5 separate regions of the Homo sapiens genome follow, and all the other regions are linked to region 4. The links are contacts of gene promoters, found by promoter capture Hi-C in blood cells and fetal thymus (Javierre and others, 2016). All regions are on one chromosome and are shown on one strand. Each heading gives the region's core, a stretch centred on a gene start or on the middle of the fragment in contact. The rest is flanking DNA. Distances are from core to core; before and after follow the strand shown.

The links. The method cuts DNA at HindIII sites, captures the fragments that hold promoters and counts their contacts. A CHiCAGO score of 5 or more calls a contact.
Region 1: a contact is called between a fragment that was not itself captured here and the fragment with the promoter of COPS4 in region 4, in 5 of 17 cell types (naive B cells, monocytes, naive CD8 T cells and 2 more). The highest score is 6.6, in naive B cells.
Region 2: a fragment that was not itself captured here is called in contact with the fragment with the promoter of COPS4 in region 4 in 2 of 17 cell types (neutrophils and naive B cells); the score reaches 10.4 in neutrophils.
Region 3: a fragment that was not itself captured here is called in contact with the fragment with the promoter of COPS4 in region 4 in 2 of 17 cell types (naive CD4 T cells and total CD4 T cells); the score reaches 6.0 in naive CD4 T cells.
Region 5: a fragment that was not itself captured here is called in contact with the fragment with the promoter of COPS4 in region 4 in 1 of 17 cell types (fetal thymus); the score reaches 5.3 in fetal thymus.

What each region holds. Positions count from the first base shown.
Region 1 is chr4:83,458,965-83,461,721 of GRCh38, reverse strand. It overlaps MRPS18C (mitochondrial ribosomal protein S18C), which reads right to left. Exons shown (of 6, transcript NM_016067.4): 4 at 1,925-1,982; 5 at 690-749; 6 at 1-601. The coding sequence ends at 525. It overlaps ABRAXAS1 (abraxas 1, BRCA1 A complex subunit), which reads left to right. Exons shown (of 9, transcript NM_139076.3): 9 at 1-2,205. Among named protein-coding and RNA genes, the nearest start is that of MRPS18C, 4.3 kb to the right of the region's middle. The HindIII fragment of the contact is 1,313 bases long and covers 767-2,079 here.
Region 2 is chr4:83,435,044-83,437,999 of GRCh38, reverse strand. HELQ (helicase, POLQ like) reads left to right here. Exons shown (of 18, transcript NM_133636.5): 9 at 903-1,142. Among named protein-coding and RNA genes, the nearest start is that of HELQ, 19 kb to the left of the region's middle. The HindIII fragment of the contact is 3,055 bases long and covers 1-2,956 here.
Region 3 is chr4:83,304,176-83,306,998 of GRCh38, reverse strand. It overlaps HPSE (heparanase), which reads left to right. Exons shown (of 12, transcript NM_001098540.3): 9 at 682-796. Among named protein-coding and RNA genes, the nearest start is that of COQ2, 21 kb to the right of the region's middle. The HindIII fragment of the contact is 462 bases long and covers 1,153-1,614 here.
Region 4 is chr4:83,033,647-83,036,568 of GRCh38, reverse strand. COPS4 (COP9 signalosome subunit 4) reads right to left here and starts at 1,386. Exons shown (of 10, transcript NM_016129.3): 1 at 1,271-1,386. The coding sequence starts at 1,344. RefSeq lists enhancers at 897-956, 498-1,003, 1,017-1,076, 1,117-1,166, 1,267-1,616 and 2 more. The HindIII fragment of the contact is 6,632 bases long and covers 1-2,922 here.
Region 5 is chr4:83,478,944-83,481,796 of GRCh38, reverse strand. All of the region lies in intron 2 of ABRAXAS1 (abraxas 1, BRCA1 A complex subunit), which reads left to right. Among named protein-coding and RNA genes, the nearest start is that of ABRAXAS1, 4.7 kb to the left of the region's middle. The HindIII fragment of the contact is 5,215 bases long and covers 1-2,853 here.

The DNA of each region.
Region 1 (2,757 bases), core at 174-2,673, 430 kb before region 4:
GATAGGCCAGTGGAACTCAGAACTGATACATATATACATGTATGTCTATCATATTCAATGTCTATTAGGTGTAAATCATCTCTTCATGTAAAAGACACTACTGGTTTGAGGGTAGACTCGTCTAGGAATATTTTGTCCTTCTGTGACAGCACCACTATCCATCCCAATGTAACATTTCTACAAAGGGAAGATATCTTAACCAGGCATACTTATATTTGCTAGTTGGAAAATCATTCTGAACAGTTTTAATTCCATTCTATTGAATGGATTATTGTATGAGCTATTTGGGGATCAGATATAAATGACAATCACACAGAACCACTTTTATTCAACATAGATAAAATGTGATGAGTGTTAACATTTTAAATAAGCAATCTGCTTAATGGACATTGGTATGAAGGGGAAGTGTCATTCTTTACCTCACTCCTCAAACACTTTTCTATCCAAAGGTTGGTTTGAGTCAGTATTGGCATCATACAACCACTTACTGTAAAATAAGTTTATTAGTGGTAACGTGATAGAATTTATTCCCGATATCTGATGTTACAAACTTTAGGGTCCTTGAGATATGCAGGATCCTTGTATGTAACTGGCATAAACCCTGTAAAGAGATAATTAAAGTTCTTGACAAAACATAATGAGCAAAATTTCAGCTAGCTCAATTCAGTTGTTGAGGTATTCTTTCTTACCCATTATTTGAGCTCTCTTAATTGCTTTTGTGATTTCTTTCTGTTTCTTCCCACAAAGACCTGTAAAATAAAAAGCTTTCTTATTCATAAAAAATGTCAATATTTAAAGTTTGCAATTTTTTTTTTTGAGATGGAGTCTCCCTGTGTCACCCAGGCTGGAGTACAGTGGTGCTCTCTCGCCTCACTGCAACCTCCGCCACCCAGGCTCAATCGATTATCTTGCCTCAGCCTCCTTAGTAACTGGAATTACAGGCATGCACCGCCACACCCGGATAATTTTTTTGTATTTGTAGTAGAAACGGGGTTTCACCATATTGGCCAGGCTGGTCCTGAACTCCTGGCCTCAGGTGATCTGCCCACCTCAGCCTCCCAAAGTGCTGGGATTACAGGTGTGAGCCAACATGCCCAGCCTCAACAAGTTTTTAAGTCAAGGATTGGTAAATCATTTTTGTCAAGGGCCACAATAATAATCTAGGTTTTGTGGGCCATACAGTCTCCATCACTGCCACTCAACTCTGCTGTTGTAGCTCGAAAACAACCATATGGCACTACGTAAACAAAACTACAAAAACAAGTGGGGTTGGGTGCAGTGGCTCACACCTGTAATCCCAGCACTTTGGGAGGCCTAGGCAGGTGGATCACCTGAGGTCAGGAATTCAAGACCAGCCTGGCCAACATGGAGAAACCCAATCTCTAAAAATACAAAAATTAGCCAGGCGTGGTGGTGCATGCCTGTAATCCCAGCTATTCGGGAGGCTGAAGCATGAGAATCACTTGAACCCAGGAGGCAGAGGTTGCAGTGAGCCGAGATTGTGCCACAGCACTCCAGCCTGGGTGACAGTGAGATTCCATCTCAAAAAAAAAAAAAAGTGGCATTTGTATATGATGAACCTAATCAAGATAAAAAGGGAGCAGGTCGAATTTGGCCTATGGGCCATAGTTTGCTGACACCAAGTTTAAGTATCAATCTAGGAATGATTATAGTATATTCCAAAACATCAACAACAGTTTTTTAAAGCCCAGTTTTTCTATATAGTTAACTCTGCATAAGACAGCAAAATAATAATCCTCTTGGCCTAAGAGACTTTTTCATAGTAACTAGCTCTAGTCCCTGTAGTATCTGATCTAGTAGTAATTTATAGCACAATTTGAAAATTTGAGTTTTCTTAAATGATAGAAATAGATTGATATAATTCGTATCTACATTTATATTCCCATAATAAAAAAGAACATACCTGTAATGTGCCTTCCATAAATGCATCCAGTAAATGGAGAAACAAACTGGGACAAAAGCTGTTTTGGAGTTTTATGTGGAGGGGAAAAAAAAGTATCTGTTATTTATTTCTGAATGTGTAAATTTCAAAAAACAACCTTCAGGTTATATAAAGCTTTACTAAATTTCAGACACATTTCATAAAATATAAGAAAAAAATATTGTTATCCTCCTGTTACCTTTTAAATATTTTCTATCCAGTGTGTCAAGTCTATATATAATTAAACAGCAGATTAATCAGCATATTCATTCAATGGTAAATCTGTTTTCTTGACTTCCACAGATACCTTTCTAAAATATTGCTTGAAACAAGCTACTAAAAAATTTCATCTATCCTGACAAGCTATCACATTACCCTCTGATAATCATTAAGATAAATTATCAGGGGGTAATGAGATTTTCAAGAGGTACAAGTACACCAGGCATTTGCTATAATTTATGTTTTATTTAAATACTTCTTTAGAACCTTTCTAGGTGCTAGTCATTATTCTTGGCACTTTGCATAATCTTCCTAGTATGTGTGTTTTTGTAATTCTTGGTTCTTCCTCAAAGGCAGCTATCACTTTATACTATTGTCAATATATGGAATTCTTTTTTTTTTTTTTTTTTTTTTTTGACAGAGTTTTACTCTTGTCACCCAGGCTGGAGTGCAATGGCACGATCTCAGCTCACTGCAACTTCCGCCTCCTGGGTTCAAGCAAATCTCCTGCCTCAGCCTCCCAAGTAGCTGGGATTACAGGCATGCACCACCACACTCAGCTAATTTTTGTATTTTTAATAGAGACGGGGTTTCAC
Region 2 (2,956 bases), core at 257-2,756, 400 kb before region 4:
AAAAAATTCTCAGTAAATCATTCATTTTCTTAGAGTAATTCAAGGTAATAAGATGGAGACACTGGCTAAGTGATGGAAACATTGTAGGATGTGAAGTTTCTAAAGTGCAAGTGTTTAGGCAGTGTTTTACCATGGAAGTATGATTTAATAATATGTATGTTTCCATCTTCAGAAAAGAAAATTTATGTCTTTAAAAAAACTATCCCCTATAAAGATATATGTTATAAAGAAAAAAACAGTTATAACATCCAGAGCAAAGGTCTAAACCTGGTGTCCATGGATTCAAAGGAAGTACAGGAATGAATTTTAGGAAATCCACGAACCCTCTGAAATTATATGTAAAGTGTTGTATTTATGTAAATAGTTATATTTTTCCTTTTTTTTTTTTTTTTTTTTAGACAAGGCTTTGCTCTTTCACCCAGGCTGGTAGGTTCATAGCTCATTGCAACCTCAAACTCCCGGGTTCAAGCAATCATCCCACCTCATCCTCCCCCATAGCCTGGAACTGCAGGTGCATGCACCACCATGCCCGGCTAATTTTTGTTATTTTTTGTAGAGGTGGTCTTGCTTCACTGCCCAAGCTGATCTTGAACTCTTGGGCTCAAGCAATCCTTCTGCCTCTACCTCCCAAAGTGCTGAGATTACAGGCATGAGCCATCGCATTTCGCCTTTCCTTAGTTTTGATAAGATTTTCACAGGGTTCTGTAATCCACAAAAAGATTGAGAGACTGCCTAATAGTTAATGAAGTCAGAATCAAAATTCTAAGAACATTTAATGTACTTAACTCAATGGAAATAGTACATTAAAGAATGTTTACATTAGCATCTACTAAAATGAAAATGGTAGAAATTTTGTCACTAAAAGATCAAGGGCTCATATTTCTAACAGATCTTTTTCATAGGGAATATCTGAAACATAAGGAGAAAGAAAAATGTGAGGTGATTAAGAACTTGAAGAATATTGGCAATGGCAACCTGTGTCCTGTTTTAAAGCGCACTATCCCATTTGGAGTTGCCTATCACCACAGTGGCTTAACAAGTGATGAAAGGAAACTCTTGGAGGAGGCCTACTCCACAGGAGTGCTCTGTCTTTTTACCTGCACATCTACCCTAGCGGCAGGTGTCAACCTACCAGCTCGAAGGTAAGAGATAAGTAAGTGTTGACCAGGCTCAGAACTTTTCCATTTCTAGCTTGCGAGGAGTTTTGTTGTTTTATGCTTTCTCAGTAGTGGATGAGAATTTATCAAATGTTCTTTTAGCATATGCTGAGTTGATTGGTTGGTTTATTTTCTTTAATATTTTAATGAATATGTAATGAAATATGTAATGAAAAATAACGTTAATAGATTTCTTGATATTAGAATTCCATCCTTTCTGCTCTTTATATCTGGTTTTGATGTTAGGGTCTATTAATCTGGTTTTGTAGAAATAGTTGGCAAGTGTTTTACCTTTTTTATGATATGAAAGAGTTTATTTAACATAGAGATTTCCTTGAAATCTTGGAGAGCTGATCCATAGGCAATTTGTGTCTAATATATGTATTTTAAAGCAGGCCCTTGATTACCTTTCCAGTTATTACCAAAGGTGTAGGCCTGTGTAATTGACTTCTCCCCTTTATAATTTATGATCATGGGGTATTTTGCTAATAAATGATCAATTTTTATAAACTTTCCATGAGTGTTTAAAAAAATATGTATTTTCAGTTGAATATGCAGTTTTGTACATCTCAGCGAGATCACAGAGGTTCATTGTGTTATCGGCTTCTCTATTTTCTTACTATATTTGATTCCTTGGTCTATCAATTTCAGAGAAGTGTGTTAGTCTCCCACTTTAATTATGTAGTTATCAGTTTCTCCTTTTTGCATCTCTAGAAGTTATTACTTTTTATATTTCAAAACTATTTAGATATACAAAGGTTTACTTCAAATATCTTATTGCCGAATTATACCTTTTATCAATACAATAAATACTTGTTTTTCTCATTTAATAATTTTGCTTTGAATACCAGGACTCATTTTTTTTTTTTGCCACGTATGTACCTTTTTCCATTCTTTTATTTTCAATTTCTGTCTCTCATTAAGTTTTCCATTTTTCAGACAATTGAAGAAAAAAATGAAAGTTATATATCCTGTTTCTATTATTCCAGTGGTTACTCTTAAAATTTTAAGTTGTAACCAAACATTTTTTATTACTTTAGAATTAATCAATAACTGTCCTCTCCTGAACATAAAAAGAGGCTTAGCATGTCCTTAGTATATTCTACTCTGCCCCATGAATGTTGCAATTACTTAGAATTTTAGTGCCAGATTTAAACATTTTCTTTCATCTTATGTAGTATTTAAACTTACCTGTAAATCATACTTCTTTTTTGCTTACCACTGCCTCTTATATCCCACATCTTTCTTCTCTGATTTTTTTTTTTTTAATTTTGCCTTCCTTGAGTAATCCTTTTTAGAATACCGCTTTAGGGGGTAAAACATTTTGACTCTTTGCATAGTTGAAGATATCTGTATTTTGGCCTCACACTTTTACACTTCACTAGCAAAAGAATTCTAGATTCAATTTTTTTCCTTTAGGGATTTTGTAAATATTGTTCCATATTTTCTAGAGGCCAATGTTGCTCATTTTTGTCTCTGCATGGATTTTCTGTTTTTCTTTTCCAGAAACTTTTAGACTTTTCTCTTTAACCTCCCAATTTTGTCATGGTGTATAATAATAGTTGTAATTACTACATTCCCCTCCCTTTCATGTAGTAACAACTTTACATGCATTGACTTGATACAGCTTCACAATAACTCTGTGAGGAAGGTCATATTTTATTACACACCTATTATAGAAGGGGAAACTGAGGCACTAAATAATTAAATAATTTTCCCAACTTTAAAAAGTTACATAACTTTTTCCCAACTCATTTTCCAACAAATGAGTTTTAAAGCCAGTGTTTGAACCCAGGAAG
Region 3 (2,823 bases), core at 134-2,633, 270 kb before region 4:
GATGGCAGAACTGGTTGGGCCAGATTACCGGTCTGGGTGGTCTCAAATGATCCACCCAGTTCAGGGTCTGCAAGATATCTCAAGCACTGATCTTAGGTTTTACAACAGTGATGTTATCCCCAGGAACAATTTGGGGAGGTTCAGACTCTTGGAGCCAGAGGCTGCATTATCCCTAAACCGTAATCTCTAATGTTGTAGCTAATTTGTTAGTCCTGCAAAGGTAGACTTGTCCCCAGGCAAGAAGGGGGTCTTTTCAGAAAAGGGCTATTATCATTTTTGTTTCAGAGTCAAACCATGAACTGAATTTCTTCCCAAAGTTAGTTCAGCCTACACCCAGGAATGAAGAAGGACAGCTTAAAGGTTAGAAGCAAGATGGAGTCAATGAGGTCTGATCTCTTTCACTGTCATAATTTCCTCAGTTATAATTTTTGCAAAGGCGGTTTCAGTCCCAGCTACTTGGGAGGCTGAGACAGGAGGATTAATGGAGCCCAGGAGTTTGAGGTTGCAGAGAGCTATGATCACGCCACTGCACTCCAGCCTGGGTGACAGAGTGAGACCCTGTCTCTAAATAAATAAATAAGTAAATAAATAAATACATAAATAAAATCAAGATGGTGTGCAATTAGAATTGAGCGATTTTGTTTCCAAACCTCAAGAAAGCTTGGTCTTGCTCTGTCCCAGGTGGCTGGATAAATTGGGCCTGTCAGCCCGAATGGGAATAGAAGTGGTGATGAGGCAAGTATTCTTTGGAGCAGGAAACTACCATTTAGTGGATGAAAACTTCGATCCTTTACCTGTAAGTGACCATTATTTTCCTAATTCTAGTGGAGTAGATTAAAGTCAACTCAGGACCTCTGGTGTTAACCTCCTATGAACAGTCAGTCCTCTCAGTAACTAGCCAAATCATGAGATGATGAATTAGAAGGAGCCTTAGATAGCATCCAATCTAACATTTTTTTGTGTGTTTGAAGAGAAGAAATCAAGAGCTAGGAATAACTTTTTAAAGGTAAGCCATTTGCAGTATAGTGTGGATTTTGTTTAAAAGGGGATAATTTGAAATTTTATGACTCATTATACAAGACAAAATAAGTTGGATTTTCAAATGTTTTACAAAGTAAATCAAAGTTATAATTGCCTACAGTACGCAAAGCTTCAAAACATTTTTTATGTTATGAAATTGTAATTTATTTAACCTTAAAATGAGCCAGTACCATGTGTTTGCTTAAAAATCTCATGCTAAGAATTTACTATGTTGTTAATAATCTTCAAGATATTTATGAATAAAGTCTTATTTCTAATCCTTCCTCCAACTGTATCTGGTGCTAAATCAGGAAATGTTTCTTCCCAAAAAGCCTCGTGGAAGATCTGTATGTCTAAATATATGTCAGGGATAATACAGATGTAGCCCTGAGAAGCATGACCTTGATTTTTATAGTCTAAAATGTCATTTGCAGATATATATTTTCTAAGAATAATTCCTAAAAGAATTATTTGAATGTTGTAGGAAAGCTAAGAAATTTTGCAAAGAGCGTACGTGAAAATATAAGCTAGGCTTTTGTGGTTTGTGGATAGACTTCCCAACAAAATTGCTTTTTATCTATAGTGATCCAAGCTTGTGGAACATATTAGTCATCTTTTTTTAGAAAATTCTTAGAAAAGTGATCTTGCAAAAATGGAATTTATCTTTCCCCAAGTATATTCTGTCATGTATAGAGTTAAACTAAGCATAGTAATTTCACCAGACAAACATTCAAAATCTACTCCTGACCTTTTTATCTCATCCAAATTTTCCCAGGGCCCAGACATAAACCTTTGCCTTACGAACTCTTTGTATATGCACTAAATATGCTTCTCCTTCAAGGTTCTCAGTCAGCTAGAAAAATGTGCAAGAGTAAATGGTACCCTTCTCACTTGTAGATCCAAGAGAATTAGACTTAAACTCACTCTACATGTCTGTGACTTTATTTTATTTGCATGACAGTCCTGTGAGGTGGCAAGGCAGGTATCTTGGATCCATTTTTTAGATAAGGAAGTTCAAATTGAGAAGAGGTTGCATGATTTACAGGAAGCCATACTGTAGTCCTATGTTACTCTTAAAAATCCCATTCAAATCCTGCTTCTGAGGCCTGCATACTTTCTACCCTACCAGTCATTGACCCATGCTTATGTCTCCTTTGAAAACATTGATTCCACTCTTGTCTCCAGTGAAAAAGTGGAATTTAAGCAGAGAAACAAAAGCCATTTGTCTTGTTAAGTCTACTTTCCCTCTACTTTCAAGAAGGAAAGTTGGGGTATGTGTTGAATGGTGATTTATTTATTTATTTATTATTTTAAAAATTGATACAAGGTCTTACTGTATTGTGCAGGCTGGTCTCAAACTCCTGGGCTCAAGTGATCATCCCACCTCAGCCTCCCAGTGTTGGGATTACAGCATGAACCATTGTGCCCACCACCGATCCGCAGTTTTTTAAGAAAAACTTTTACTATAGAAAATTTTAATCATATACAAAATACAGAGGAAAGTATATGAACCCACTTTAGGAGACTAGAATATGCCACCCCAAAATATGCCACTTTGGCATAAGGATTATTTCGAGCTAAAGGCAACTGGGAAGAAACACATAGAAGAAAAGTTCTCTGTCCTTCTCCATTTGCCTAAAAGCAGGACATGAATCTTAAAAGTCCCCCTCCTTCCCTTTCTACCAGGAAAAACAAGAGTTAATCACTGAAGATAACTTCAGACCCTTATCAGTGTAGAGATGGCACTAGAAGAATCTATATTACATACTCATTTATTTTCCTTCCCACAACTTGCCACCCCAG
Region 4 (2,922 bases), core at 137-2,636:
GTCAGACAAGAATAAGTCCTATTATTATCTTCATTTTCCTGAGTGGGAAAATGCAGCACAAAGTAGTTAAGCCCAAAATATACGGCTGAATTTCCCACTGATAAAAGTAGATTACGTTTGCCACCAGAGAAAAGGCAGCCTAGCCTACTTAAAACAGTCAGAATTTCAATGACCAGGTTAGAACAGGTGTATCCCATTAATATACATCAAAGTGATTTCAGCTGTCAGGATGTAAACATTAAGATCAACTTGAGAGGCATACTTTATTTACTTATTTATTTACGGAGACGGGTGGCGGCGGGGGGGGGGGTCTCACTATGTTGCCCAGGCTGGTCTAGAACTCCTGCCCTCAAGTGATCCTCCCTCTCAGATCTCTCAGGCCTCAAGTGATCTCAGCCTCTCAAAGTGCTGGGATTACAGGCGTGAGCCACTGCACCCGGCCTAGAGAGGCATACTTTAAACAGAAAGCATGTTCATTACAAAAGAGAAATGCTGTGACATCTACAAAGAGAAAATGAACAATATACGTCTACCTACCTATGCTTAATACTGTTGACAACTGCTTGCAGAACAGGCACGTCACACATTTTAACTTGGAGTGAACCTAAGCATTCTATATAAATTTCGACAAAATTCAGATTCCTGCAAACATCACTACTGTAGACATCCTGACCCACGATATGAGCACATTCCGCCTATGTGCCATCAGAGTTGGTGGCAGAGAAAATACCCGAAACACAAGGACCCACAGAAGACAGTCTGAATGGTCTGGACGACATGACAGCGGCCATACCGCCTCAACCTCAGCCAGCCCCAAGAAGCCATCTCCCCGAAAAACGCAGCATCAAGGCCCCAGAATATACATTTCTCTGAATCAAAAAAAAAGAGGAGGAAGGTCCAAAGAGAGGCCAGATTCGGTGTGAGGCCGGCCAGCGATGGGAAGAGGTACCAGGGAAGGCTACTAAGGCCAGGGTAGCAGTCGTCTCTCAGACCGCTGTTCCAAAATCCTAAGGGACCAGAAAGATTCTATCAAGAACTGAACAAGCTGACAATCATTTCAAGTCTATAGCCTCGAAGGCCCCTGCACAAGGTCCCCTCCAGCTTTCTGCTTCTCCCAACATTTGCCTCCCCAGCCGACCTCAGGCCCGCCCCCTTGGACGTCAGGCCGGCTCCTAGCTTCACGCCCAAGAGCCGTGGCCAACCTAAGGAGATTAAGGCTGTGGCTTTCTTTCCCCACCTCTGTACTCCCGCGTTCCTGGGAAATACTCACTTGCCAGCCAGATCTTTATGAGAGCCGCTCGAATTCATGAGCTGGGCCAAATCCTGTCGCACGGCTGCCGCCATCTTTCTCCCAGCTCAGCGGTGGATGCGGGGGCCTCTGGCAGCCAAAAAGAAAACGAGTGTGGTCCTCCAGAGTGCAGCCAGAGGGAACCTGAGATGCTACAGAGTAGCGTCTGTGTGGGCCAGAGCGTCGGGTGTGGGAGCCTGGGCTAGCTCCGCCCCCAGGGTTGAGTGATGCGGAGCTCCACTCCTCAGGTCTGAGGCCTGCCCAGGTCTCTCCTACAGGCTCTGGCTCTCACGCTTGGACTTTGGATTGGCTGATGAACTCCAGTAGTGAGTCTCTGGTGTAACTCCAATGAGTAGCCGGTACATAAAACGACTGCGTTTTCGCAAAGTTCCGTTTCTCACGTCTGTGGTTTACCGTCCTTCGATCTTTCAGGCAGCGCTTAAACTGCCTGTGGTAAAGAATGAGTTTTGTTTCCGATTCACCACAGAAGATACTTTTTAGAAATACAATTAAAATGTCCCTATTCCTCCTCCCACTCCGTGCACTTTATAATGGTTGGTCAGACATTCCAGTTTGTCCAGTACAAAGCGATTTTCCCTCTGTCGTCCTGGAGTAATGATTAATATCCCCCCTTTCGGCCGGGCGCGGTGGCTCACGCCTGTAATCCCAGCACTTTGGGCAGCCGAGGCGGGCGGATCACGAGGTCAAGAGATCGAGGCCATCCTGGCTAACACGGTGAAACCCCGTTCTCTACTAAAAATACAAAAAAATTAGCCGGGCGTAGGTGGTGCACCCCTGTAGTCCCAGCAACTCGGGAGGCTGAGGCAGGAGAATGGCGTGAACCCGGGAGGCGGAGTTTGCAGTGAGCCGAGATCGCGCCACTGCACTCCAGCCTGGGAGACACAGCGAGACTCGGTCTCAAAAAATAATAATAATAATAATAACATCCTCCCTTTCATTCTAGAAACCGTTCCATTTCAATGGAAGATTATATGGTCGCCTGCGTTTGTATAACATTCAATACTCATGTATTCTTATAGAATTTCTGCAAATACAAGCAAATATTAATAAAATAAAATTTTACCTCTCACAAGCAACACCACATAATTGTTCTGCCTTGGTTTTTTTTTTTTGCACTTTTCCTGGTACTGTGGTTTGAAATAATTGTCTTCTCCAAAACTCATGTTGAGGGCTGGCGCCGTGGCTCACGTCTGTAATCCCAGCACTTTGGGAGGCCGAGGTGGACGGATCACCTGAGGTCGGGAGTTCGAGACCAGCCTGACCAACATGGAGAAACCCCGTCTCAACTAAAAATACAAAAATTAGCTGGGTGTGGTGGCACGTGCCTGTAATCTCAGCTACTCGGGAGGCTGAGGCACGAGAATCACTTGAAGCTGGAAGGCGAAGGTTACGGTGAGCCAAGATTGCACCACTGCACTCCAGCCTGGGCAACAAGAGGGAAATTCCGTCTCAAAAAAAAAAAAAAAAACAAACAACTCATGTTGAAACTTCATCTTTAATGTGGCAGTATTTAGAGGTGGGCCTTAAATAGGTGATTGGATCATGAGGGCAAAACCCTTGATCTATTCATGGATTAATGGGTTGTCATGGGAGAGAACATGTGGCTTTATTAG
Region 5 (2,853 bases), core at 114-2,613, 450 kb before region 4:
GCCTGGGCAACAAAGCGAGACTCTGTCTCAAAAAAAGAAAAATAAGAAATATATATTAATTTTAAAATAATTTAAAAGGATATGTTGTACTCATTTTGCAGTTAAAATTATGACCATGGACTGGTCTAAAGTAAGAAATAGTATGAGACTTAGGAAGCAGATAAGATTACTGCCAGGGAAACAAGGATGAAACACCTGCTGTTTAGTAGGAAGATGGCCCGGCAATAGGAAGACCAAGGAAAAAGATAAAATGTTAAATGCTGCAGAAAAGTTGGAAGATGAGAACTGAGAAAATGCAGTAATTAGATTATTAGATGACTGAAAATCCTCAGTAATTTCTGGAGCGTAATGGGGAAGAGACCAGGCTGTAAAGGGTTTGAGGAGTGGGTGCTAAAGCAGTTATAACTGGTGGCAGCTTCTCTTTTAGGGAAAAGCAGGGGAGAACCTTTAAAATGCATAGGGAAAAAAATGGTTAAAAGAAATAAAATGTATAGGGAGTTTTCTGATTGTCTAATATAGTTTTTCTCTATATATGTGTATGTATTTTTAAACAAAATTGGTAGTGTACTTTATAAAAGGTTTGGCATCATATTGTGTCATGATCACTTTACAATGTTGCATAATCCTCTACAATATTATTTTTCATTTCTTTTCTTTTTTTTTTTGAGGCAGAGTCTCACTCTGTTGCCCAGGCTGGAGTGCAGTGGCGCAATCCCGGCTCACTGCAACCTCCGCCTCCCAGGTTCAAGCGATTCTCCTGCTTCAGCCTCCCAAGTAGCTGGGATTACAGACGTGTGCTGCCACGCCCGGCTAACTTTTTGTATTTTTATTAGAGATGGGGTTTCATTATGTTGGCGAGGCTTGCCTTGAACTCCTGACTTCAAGTGATCCACTCGCCTCGGTCTTTCAAAGTGCTGGGATGACAGGCGTGAGCCACCATGCCTGGCCTACAATACTATTTTTCATAACTGCATTGTGTTCTACCCTGTGGCCTTACTGTGATTTAAACATTCCTTTAAATATGTTATAATCAGCTGTTTCTAGTTTTTCATTATCATAAAGTATACTACAGTGAATATCCTTGTATATCAATATTTGGCGTTATCTATTATAGATTCCTAGATATGGTATTACTGTGTCACAGGGTATGAACACTTGTAAGGTTTTTGATCTGCATTAGCAGATTGCTTTCCGGAAAGATTATATCAGTTTGTACTCATACTGTATGTTATTTTTGTTTGCTACTTTACAAGTTTAAAAATAGAAATATATAAAGTAGGAAATAAAAAATTTAAACTCTCATTAGTTTCCTTAGTGGCAACTACTATTTCATGGATTCTTACTAGCTTGCAATATTCATAAAACACACAAATGTAAATGTGTGTGTGTATATATATGTGTATATATACATTTTGTTTTTGTTTTGAGATGGAGTCTCATTCTGTCGCCCAGACTGGAGTGAAGTGGCATGATCTCGGCTCACTGCAACCTCTGCCTCTCGAGGTCAAGCGATTCTCCTGCCTCGGCCTCCGGAGTAGCTGGGATTACAGGCACACGCAACCATGCCCGGCTAATTTTTTTTGTATTTTTAGTAGAGATGGGGTTTCACCATGTTGGCCAGGCTGGTCTCGAACTCCTGACCTCAAGTGATCCTCTCACCTCGGCCTCCCAAAGTGCTGGGATTGCAGGCGTGAGCCACCATGCCCGGCCAAATGTGTATACTTTTTATTTACACAAATGGGATCTTACTATATGTGCCTAATATCTCCCAAGATATCACAAGTACAGAATAGTATCTGTGTGTATAATTCATCACTCTTTGTTTTTTTTTTTTTTGAGATGAGGTCTTGCTCTTTCAGCCAGGCTGGAGTGTAGTGGCACAAACACTGGTCACTGCAGCCTTGACCTCCTGGGCTTAAGCAATCCTCCTGCCTCAGCCTCCTGTATTGCTGGGACCATAGGTATGCACCACCACGCCTGGCTAATTTTTTATTGTTTGTAGAGACAGGTTCTCACTTTGTTGCCCAGGCTGGTCTCAAACTCCTAGGCTCAAGCAATCCTCCTGTCATTACAAAGTGTTTGGATTACAGGGGTGAGCCACCATACTCGGCCCATCATTCTTTCTGCTGGCTGCATATATCCTGTTGTATAGACGTACCATAATTTTTTTAACCATCTAAGAATGATTTTCTGGGTTTTTTTGTTAACATAAACAGTATTACCATGAACATTTAGTATTGTACATTTCTTTGTGCTGTTGAGTGTATATTTGAAAGTCACACTCCTGGAGGTAGACTAGCTGATTGCCTTTTGGAAAACTTATGCCATTTTAGGCTTCTCCACAGTATATAAAAGTGCCTAGGTCCCCATACTCTTTTTTTTTTTTTTTTTTTGAAACAGAGTCTCACTCTGTCACCCAGGCTGGAGTGCAGTGGTGGGATTCCGGCTCACTGCAACCTCTGCTTCCCGGGTTCAAGTGATTATCCCTGTCTCAGCCTCCCGAGTAGCTGGGATTACCGGCGACTGCCACCACACCCAGCCAATATTTGTATTTTTAGTAGAGATGGGGCTTTGCCATCTTGGCCAAGCTGGTCTCAAACACCTGACCTCAGGTGATCTGCCCGCCCTGGCCTCCCAAAGTGCTAGGATTACAGGCGTGAGTCACCATGCCCGGCCCCCATGCTCTTGCCAACACTAGGTATTATCAAATCTTTTAATCTTTGCCAATTTGATAAGTGAAAAAAATAGCATTTTAATTTGCATTTCTTAATTACAAAAGAGGTTAAGTATTTTTTTGATACTTTTTACTTTTTTTCTTGGCCATTTTCTCTGAAAAGGATAGGCCTATTCTTT